Regions from separate parts of the Homo sapiens genome. Here region 1 is linked to region 2. Evidence: promoter capture Hi-C in human tissues and cell types (Jung and others, 2019). All regions are on one chromosome and are shown on one strand. The core of a region is centred on a gene start or on the middle of the fragment in contact, and the rest is flanking DNA. Distances in the headings are between cores, read along the strand shown.

What was found. The method cuts DNA at HindIII sites, captures the fragments that hold promoters and counts their contacts. A contact is called where the count stands out against the background at its distance.
Region 1: a contact is called between a fragment that was not itself captured here and the fragment with the promoter of ASS1 in region 2, in 1 of the 25 tissues and cell types used here (bladder).

Annotation. Positions count from the first base shown.
Region 1 is chr9:130,379,636-130,384,450 of GRCh38, forward strand. It overlaps HMCN2 (hemicentin 2), which reads left to right. Exons shown (of 98, transcript NM_001291815.2): 55 at 2,549-2,662; 56 at 3,044-3,231; 57 at 3,869-3,965; 58 at 4,738-4,815. Among named protein-coding and RNA genes, the nearest start is that of ASS1, 63 kb to the right of the region's middle. RefSeq lists an enhancer at 1,983-2,898. The HindIII fragment of the contact is 4,474 bases long and covers 1,080-4,815 here.
Region 2 is chr9:130,442,204-130,447,010 of GRCh38, forward strand. It overlaps ASS1 (argininosuccinate synthase 1), which reads left to right and starts at 2,758. Exons shown (of 15, transcript NM_054012.4): 1 at 2,758-2,792. RefSeq lists a silencer at 2,561-2,680 and an enhancer at 3,561-4,228. The HindIII fragment of the contact is 13,908 bases long and covers 1-4,807 here.

The sequences.
Region 1 (4,815 bases), core at 2,067-4,566, 62 kb before region 2:
CTCTGGTTTATAGAGCAGAGCCTCCTATCATGGGGCATGCCCTTCTGGGCTTCAAGATCTGTAATGTCCTTAAATGATCGGCAGAAGCTGCCACTTTCTCTGCAGAGGCAGCTGGCTTCTTTGTTAATCGTCAACAAAGCTCATGACCCCAAACGCTGACGAAGCTCTAGCTGGGCATTGAAGGGCACACTGTGGTGGCTGAACTCATGTCTTTTGTGTCTGGGTTTTTTTTCTATTTTTTTCTATTTTTATTTTTTGGGACAGAGTTTCGCTCTTGTTGCCCAGGCTGGAGTGCAATGGTGCAACCTTGGCTCACTGCAACCTCCACCTCCTGGGTTCAAGTGATTCTCCTGCCTCAGCCTCCCAAGTAGCTGGGATTACAGGCATGCGCCACCACGCCTGGCTACTTTTTGTATTTTTAGTACAGATGGGGTTTTTCCATGTTGGCCAGCCTGGTCTCAAACTCCCGACCTCAGGTGATCCACCGTCTCGGATCGGCCTCCCAACATGCTGGGATTATAGGCGTGAGCCACCACGCTCAGCCAGGTTTTGTTTTTTCTTTCACCACCTTAAGAGGTATTTGTTTATTTAAGGTAATTTAATTTTTTTAAGTAAACCTTTTATTTTAGAATAATTTTTTGTAGGTGATTTTGACTTAAAAGGCTCCAGGGGTGGGGCTTAGAAATGCCCGGCCCACCTGGCTCATGAGGGAAGCGTGGGTGGTCTCTCTGTTTGAGATTCGAACTGTGTCCTGCCAGAGATGGGCCGGCAATGGGGCTGGTTTTGGGGAGAAGTGGTCAGTTGCACAGGTCTCCAATGAGCAGAATCAGACCAGGATTTCTACTTTGGTGCTTGCAAGAAAAGGAGGTGGCTGGGCGCCGTGGCTCACACCTGTAATCCCAGCACTTTGGGAGGCTGAGGTGGGAGGATCGCTTGAGCCCAGGTATTCAAGACCAGCCTGGGCAACATCGTGAGACCCCGTCTGTACAAAATATTTTAAAACTAGCTGGGCGTGGTGGCATGTACCTGTGGTCCCAGCTACTCAAGAGGCTGAAGAAGGAGAATCCCTTAAGCCCAGGAGGTCAAGGCTTCAGTGAGCCGTGATCACACCACTGCACTCCAGCCTGAGTGACAGATCAAGACTATCTCAAAAAAAGAAAAAAAAAAAAAAAAGAAGGAGGCCTCTTGCAGATCCAGGAGTGCAACTCTTACTGAACACTGTTAGTTCCTATTAGAAACCTCTGGACAGACCCCTTAACCTGGCCACTGACCACTGATCCTGACCCCAAGTCCTGGGTGCACAGTAGGCTCTGACCTGCTGATCCCGATCAGACTCTAACCATCAGCTAATCCCAACCAATAGCTGAACCCAGACCACAGCCACCAACTGCCCCCCAGTCCTGCCCACTTACCTCCAACCCTACCACTCACCTCTCACCCTGACAACTGACCTCTAACCTCTGTTCTCTAATCCTGAGAAAATAGGCGTCATGGTCACGGCTGACCTGAATTCTTACCCTGACCTTACACTGACCTCAAACATCAACTGACCCCTACAATGCCACTGCTGCCTCAATCCTGGCCACTGGGCTCTGCAGGCTCTTAACCTGGTCAAGCTACCCACAGCCCGGGCCGGCCAGCCCCAGCCTAGAATTCTGAGCACACAGTAACCCTAACCAGGCCCCCACTGGAGACCAACGCCAGCCCCCATAGATGCCAGGCTCTGGCCTTGGATGGCTCTTTTTTTTTTTCTGAGATAGAGTCTCACTCTGTTGCCCAGGCTACAGTGCAGTGGCAGTCTTGGCTCACTGCAACCTCTGCCTCCTGGGTTTAAGTGATTCTCCTACCTCAGCCTTCTGAGTAGCTAGGATTGCAGGTGTGCACCACCACACCCGGGGAATTTTTGTATTTTTAGTAGAGATGGGGTTTCGCCGTGTTGGCCAGGTTGGTCTTGAACTACTGACCTCAGGTGATCCACCTGCCTTGGCCTCCCAAAGTGCTGGGATTGTAGGATTGTAGGCGAGAGCCACTGTGCCTGGCCCCTGGCTGGCTTTTGATCACAGAGGGTCCCAGGCGATGCCTCCCCAGCCCCTACCCCTACTTCTACCCCCGCCAACCACCACAGCCCCAGGAGTTGCCTCCCTTGCCTCCTGAGTCTCTGCTTGGACTCTGCCCTTACCAAGGAGCTGGGCTCAGCACAACAGCAGAGCTGAGCCAGCAACCACTGCTGTCACCCCCAGCACTGCCATGAAGGCTCAGGTTTGCCATCTGTAAGATGGGAGTGACAACAGCGTGTGCCCCACAGAGGCACTGTGGGACAGGCCGAGAATGTGCAGCCCAGGGCCTGGCACGCAGCGAGTGGTGGCTGTACCCTGACTTGACTCCACTCCACCCGTGAGCTGGGCAGGACAGGCCGATTCTCCTCATTTCACAGATGAGGCAGGGACAGTCACATGTCCCAGGTCCACTCCAGAGGAGGGGGCAGCGTCTTTGCTCTTGGGGGTGACTCTCGTGCCTGAGCCCAGGCCTCTGTCCCGTGTCCCTGCAGGAGGCCGGGTCCTGCAGATCCCCCTGGTGCGGGCAGAGAACGCCGGGAGGTACTCGTGCAAGGCCTCCAACGAGGTGGGCGAGGACTGGCTGCACTACGAGCTGCTGGTGCTGAGTGAGTGGCGGGGCCTGCAGGTGGGGATTCCCGGGACTGCAAGCGCCGTAAGGGCCTCCCTCAGAAGGGGCCGAGGCAAAGTGCACACAGTCTTGCTGTACTCAGAGGTTGAAATTGGAGTTACATGCTCGGCCTCAAAGAATCATGCAGGACTGGGCGCAGGTTCCAAGTCAGAAGCTTCCTAGCTGTGTGACATTGAGCAAATCACAACCCTTTCTGTGCCCCCGATTCCTTAGCTGCATCAGGGATTGGGAGGGCTTGGAGAGAAGGGCATGAGGATCCCGACCAGCACCTGACACCAAGTGCCACTCTCGCCTCCACGGCCACCCCCGCCCCCAGGGACCTGTGCCAGCCCCTCAGCCCCCTCTCCCCCACCCCCAGCCCCACCTGTGATCCTGGGTGACACAGAGGAGCTGGTGGAAGAGGTGACAGTCAATGCCAGCAGCACCGTCAGCCTGCAGTGCCCGGCCCTGGGAAACCCCGTGCCCACCATCTCATGGCTCCAGAATGGGCTGCCTTTCTCCCCGAGCCCACGGCTGCAGGTCCTGGAGGACGGGCAAGTCTTGCAGGTCAGGGCAGCCCCCTGCACGGGCTAGGGGCAGTGGCTGCTGAGGCCCAGCACCACTTGTCTGGGAGCCAGGGAGGGGTCATTATCTGCAAATGAGGCTCTTTGCTGGGAACCATGCTGGAGCCCAGCCAAGAATCACCTGTGAGGAGGCATGCTGGGCCAGCACAGGCCTGTGCACGGCATCCAGAGCTTCAGGAGACACCTAGCAAAGGATGCACATGGGTGCGGGACCCAGAGCCCAGCACCGCACACAGCAGCCTTCCGCGGGATCACCAGCTGGCGCGTGCAGAGCCGTGCCCAGCACTCAGACATCAGGCAGCCCCCTGAGTCACCCCATGTGCAGACACAGAGCTGCGGGGACCCTGGGAGCCCAACACACACAGCACGGCCCTCCACAGGGGTGGGGGAGGCTCTTGTCACATCTGGTTTGCTACAGAGAACCACCCAACACCAACCTCACACGCCCGCTCCTGAGCGCCACACAAGGCCCTGGATGGAGGAGGTTCCAGGTCTCCATGAGCTGCCTGGTGCCTGCTTCCCTGGCATGGGATGGGAGGGATTCCTCGCAGTCATTCCTGGGGGTGGTGGTGTCCAAGGGGTCTCAGGTATCTCCCAGGCATGGCTCCCTGCACCCACAGGTTTCCACGGCAGAGGTGGCCGACGCCGCCAGCTACATGTGTGTGGCCGAGAACCAGGCGGGCTCCGCTGAGAAGCTCTTCACCCTCAGGGTTCAAGGTGAGCTGGGCTGAGCAGGCAGCCCCTGTGGGTTCCTTTTCCCTTCCCAGGGGGCACTGCCTTGGGGCTTCCAGTATCCTGGGCTCTGGGTCCTGCAATCAGAGTTCAGGGATCCCAGCTGGCCCCAGCCACATCCCGAGACAGAGAGCATTTGGGGGGCCCTGATCACTACTGGGCCAACCCCAGGTGGTTTTAAGCAACTTTGGAGATGGCCAGGCATTACCACCACCATTACTGAGCACTTACTGTGTACCTGACACGAGGCTGAGCACTTTCCCTGGGCTGACTCCTTCCAGCAGAGCTAGGTTAGCCCACCCAGCTTTGCAGCTGTGGGAGGAGACTCAGGGAGGTCGCCCTCAGAGAGGAGTGGGATTGGGGGGGTCTCACTGTCCCGGAGCCTGCACTCCTAACCTCTGCAACTCATGACGTACACCGCACTGCAGTGGCTGTGAGTTCTGTCTCCAGATGGTCTTGGAGATGGAGGAAGATAGTGTTGAGCCCTCAAGGTCATGGGCTCAAACCTGAATTGATATCTTAGCTCTGCCACTGACCAGCTGTGTGGCCTTGGAACAGTGACTCTCCCTCTCTGATCCCCTACCCAGTGTCCTTCTGTGTAAGAGAGTCATGGCAAATGGAGGTTTCTGAATTATTTGAAGTTGTGCCGAGGTGAAGCCCCAGGAGCTGGGTGAGGCTCAGGGTTTCTCTTGGGCTCTGTGCTCCCCTGCTGGTGTGATTCTCATGCCTTTCTCTACCGTGGTGGCTGTGGGGATAGTCCCGCCACGAATCGCAGGCCTGGACTTGGAGCAGGTCACTGCCATCCTCAACAGCAGCGTCTCCCTCCCTTGCGACG
Region 2 (4,807 bases), core at 1,508-4,007:
AAACAGAACCTCTCTGGCTGTTGGGGAGGAAATGTTGGAGGGGCAACTAGGGTAAGTGGAGGAGCCAGCAAAGAGACTTAAGTAAGAAATTATAATGGTCTCAGTAAGAGAAGATGGTGGCCCTGTATGGAGGAAGTGGAAGTGGAGAGAAAGGGGCAGACTTGATATATTTAGAAGATATGAATGTTGTTGGGCACGGTGGCTCACACCTGTAATCCCAGCATTTTGGGAGGCGGAGGTGGGTTGATCACCTGAGGTCAGGAGTTCAAGACCAGCCTGGCCAACATGGTGAAAACCCGTCTCTACTTAAAATACAAAAATTAGCCTGGTGTGGTGGCGGGCCTGTAGTCCCAGCTATTCAGGAGGCTGAGGCAGGAGTATTGCTTGAACCGGGGAGGCAGAGGCTGCAGTGAGGGTGCCACTGTACTCCAGCCTGGGTGACAGAGCAAGACTCCAAATTAAAAAAAAAAAAAAAAAAAAGGAAGGTATGAGTGTCTCAGATCCCAGTGCCTTTGTTTCTCCACCTGCTCAGGCCTAGGTGCTGCTTTGTTTTTAGGAATGCCACCAAGATCACTTACCTAGAAGGTGCAAAGGCTCCTGGAGGACCCCTGACCTAGGTGTGGGCAGGGGGTAAGATGAAAGTCAAAGGCCATGGTGCCCCAGTCTCAGGTGGGGGAATCCCTTTGGGCCACGCCCCACTTTGGCCCTCAGCACTGCTCTGCAGGGTAAGGGCCAGGGCAGGGTTGAAGGTCCCCCTGGCCGATGGAGGGGTCCAGGCAGAATGGGGCTCATTCAGAAGCTGGCCAGTCCTCCCTCACCTTGGTCTCTGCCTCTGGGCAACCACTCACCCTGCTGTTGGTGGCAGGACGGTGGGGGTGGGGGGCGGGGTGCTGCTGGCAGTTTGGGCCCCTGTTTTCTTCTCAGGAGCGCTGTGACCTCACTGTCCCTCATGTCACTGGTGCATGTGAGTTAGGAAGGGTCTGTCCCCTAGGCTGGAACCATTTCTGCGGCAAGGAGTAAAGGTCCCAGCAGCCTGTGACCCTGGGACTGTGACCTCAGTTCAGCTCAGGCTGGAGCTAAAGCAGAGGGTTTGAGCCAGAGCTTCAGACACTGGATTCTAGCTCCGCTCTGCCACTCACATGCTGTGTGGCCTTGGGAAAGATACACCGTCATTCTGTGCAGCAGGTTTCTGCCCATACCATTGAGATAACAATCACAGGTACTTCATACAGGGTAGTCGTGAAGGTGAAAACAGAATGCTTGCTCTTTCCAGGGCGACCCTACCAATGAGAAAACAGGCTGCAGTGGGGAGTGACCGCCCCAAGGACACACAACTGCTGCAAGGGTGTCATTGTGTAGGTGTTCCTCACTTGCCTCCTGCTAGTGTGGGAGGCCCAGAGACTCCACGAGACCCCCAGCTGCTCCTGTGAGAGGGCTGAGGGGGGCCAGCTGTGATACCGCCTCCCATCTAGAAGGGGCCTCAAGCCACCCATGTACACCCAGCCCCACGTGGCTCACCAGGGGCCCCTTTGCCATCAAGGGCCACATCCCAGGTTTAAGTGTCAGAGAACTAAGGGGCTTAAGAGAGAATCGAGCTGTGGCTTTGTTTGTGAATTGGTTTGATCCTTTTTTCCTTCTAGAAGGACTCACAGCTACTGTTGCTTGCCATGGGCTTGAGGGGGTGGTGGGGGCTGACTGGCAGAGGGGCTGAGAGTGGATGGTGATTAAAAGGAGCACTGACTCCAGGGTAGCGGCTGGGCAAGGCTTGGGGCTCCCACCTCCCCCAGGTTCAGAGCCGGCTGAGGACCGGGAGTCCTCCCTTCTGGGGTCAGTGCTCACTATGGAGCAACTGCCTTGGATGGGGTCCCAGGACTTGCTCTTTTACTGGGGCTGTGGTTGCAGTGATCAGGGCTTTGGAGCCGGCAGACCAAGCTGGGAAACTCCTGAGGTAGAGAAGCTGTTGAAGGCGGGCCTGGGGTCACAACTCCCAGCTGCTTTTTACAAGCAAGAGACTTCTCTCTGAACCTCAACCTTCCCTCCTGTCTAGTGGGTTCGCAGCCAGACAGTCTTTTACTCACTGCTTACTGGGTGCCCTCTGGAGTCTGGGCAGGTGCCAGGCTCTGAGAAGACAGGCCAGCAATCAGCCCTGGCCTAAGGGATGAAAGCCGGGCCTTCCCGCGCCGGCTCACCTCGGTTTTCTCATCCTTACTCGGCTACCAGAGGCTATGGTTGGGGAGGGAGGGGGCTCTGGGGGCTGCAGAAGGCCCAGGCTGCCGGCACCGGATAGAAGTGAGCACGAAGCTCCCTGCGCCAGTGGAACTTTTATCCCGGCTCCCACCGCGAAGCGTTTAAATTGCTTCCCCAGGGCCAGGAGGCAAGTCTCTCGAAGGACGGCTGCGGCCACCCTCCGCCCCTGAGTTACATGGGTCGCAGCCACTGCCGCCCTCCTTGGCGCCTCCAGCCCGCGGGCCAGGGCCAGGAACCGCGAGCCGCCTGCGCCCCCGCCGGCGCGCCCCTGGGAGGGTGAGCCGGCGCCGGGCCCAGGCCCGGACCTGGTGGGAGGCGGGGGGAGGTGGGGACGAGGCCTGGGGAGGCGGGCCCCGCCCATCTGCAGGTGGCTGTGAACGCTGAGCGGCTCCAGGCGGGGGCCGGGCCCGGGGGCGGGGTCTGTGGCGCGCGTCCCCGCCACGTGTCCCCGGTCACCGGCCCTGCCCCCGGGCCCTGTGCTTATAACCTGGGATGGGCACCCCTGCCAGTCCTGCTCTGCCGCCTGCCACCGCTGCCCGAGCCCGGTAAGGAGCCCTCGGCCCCTCTCGCTGCCCACTCCCTAGCCGAGAGCACCCGCTTCCCGGGCCCAGAGGAGGAGGCGTAGAAGACGCCCGCCCCGGGGCCCGCGGAGGCAGAGGGCGGACCCCGATCGCCACTCGCCGGGGACTGGGACCGAGGCAGGAGGGAAGGGGCTCCCGATGCTCAAACGCCTGGCACCGGATTCCAGGTTTCTGGAGCGTGGGGGACGCGGCGGGGGCGCGAGTCCCCGGGGGCGCGAGTCCCCGGGTCCGAAGAGCGGCTCGGGTTATTTGTTCCCTGCGCAGCCGGGTCCTTTCTGGACTCCTTGTCGGATCCGGCTTCCTCTGTGTCGTGAAGCCCCCACATGGAGACCTGGGGAGTCCGGAGCGTGTGGGGGGGCTCCCGATTCTCTCTCCCTCTCTCGGACTCGCCGTCTGTCTCCACCTCTATTTCTCTGCGTAAAACCAGGAGTCCAGCCCCTCTGGGGCTTGGACGTATCGCTTTCCCCGCAGCCTCAGTTTACCCTGGACAGATGGGCATGGTGGCCCTGGCTCCCTTCCCTGCAGGGGGCGGCAGCCACCTGGCCCTCCCCGGTGGGGCTGGCGGCCTCGCGGCGGGGTTTCCTGCTGGCCTGGGCTGGGCTCTGTGGGAGGGGCAGTGCCAGGAATATTTTCTATTCGGGCTGCTGTTGCCTTTGGCCCCTGGGCGGCTGCGCCCTCCAGGGAGGCAGGGTCATTGTGAAAGAGAGGAAACTCCTCTCCCAGGCGGCCAGGGCTGTTCCTGAGGAGGGCTGGCCTGGCCTCAGTATTCTTCTCTGAGAAGTGGAGAGTCCACTCCCGAGCAGCCGAGTCAGGCTGCAGGTCTCAGGGCAGGAACAGACCTGTTCTCTCCCCAGGGGTAGATCAAGACCTAGGGGACTTGGGCTTTGATCCTCCCGCTCCCAGCAAGCACAAACCCAGTGATGGGGAGAGCTGGTGAGGCCTTGGCTCAGCCTCCAGATTCCCAAGCTTCCTTTTCATTTTCTTTTCTTTCTAAAAATTTATCAGAGATGTGGACTCGTCATGTTGCCCAGGCTGGCCTCGAGCTCCTGGGCTCAAGCGACCCTCCTCCCTCGGGCCTCCTAAACTGCTAGGATTACAGGCTCGAGCCACCCAAAGTGCCTGGCCCCCAAGCTTCAGTCTGTTAGAGCTGGCTGGGGCTGAGGGCTCAGGAAACATTTGCAGATACTGTGCGGCTGCTAAGGGCTCTGTAGACTGTTGGGTGCTGGGCCTGGGTCCAATTGCACAATAACTGTGCCTGGGGTTAGGTTCTGATGAGAGGGAGGGAGAAGCAGCCACACGGACTGGGAAGCTTGGCTAGGAGCAGGAACTGGAGGAGTCTCCATTCCAAACTCCCTCTCCCTCCCAGACCCCTTAGGCCCAAGGCCTAGGGCGGGGAAGTTTGGGGGTGGGGGCGGGACCCTGTCCTGGCGGGGCCATCTGTGCACCATGCTGAGAAGTAATTCTGGTTCTGCTCTGTGGGGGTGGATCAAGTGAATGAATAGTGACTCCTGCCTGCTGAGCGCCTGGCCGGTGCGGGGGCAGACACGTCGTGAGAGGGAAGGGGAGGCCCCACTCTCAGCACAGTCTCCATTCCTGAGTGCTTGGGAAGCAGGCCCAGGGCCGCAGGAGCCTTGGGGTGGAGCCAGGCCCAAAACAGCCTGCTGCACAAGCGCTTCCCCCTCCCAACCCGGGCCCATCTCATCTTTGGCCTGCTGGGAGGCCAGCCAGGTCAACCAGATGCCTCATCTGAGCACTGACTACACAGTCCCTGAAGTCAGTGGCTTGCCTGTGGGCACCAGGCACCCATGTGGAAAGAGGTAACTTCGCTGGAATTCAGAGTCTAAGGCTCTGATTTCTGATGTAGCTTTGGGCAAAGTTGATCTTCCAGGGCGTGGCTCCCTCCCCAGACTTGGGGTCGACCAGGCACCCATAGGCACTTTGATATGAGTGGAACGAATGAATGAATGTGCCCTTCGTCC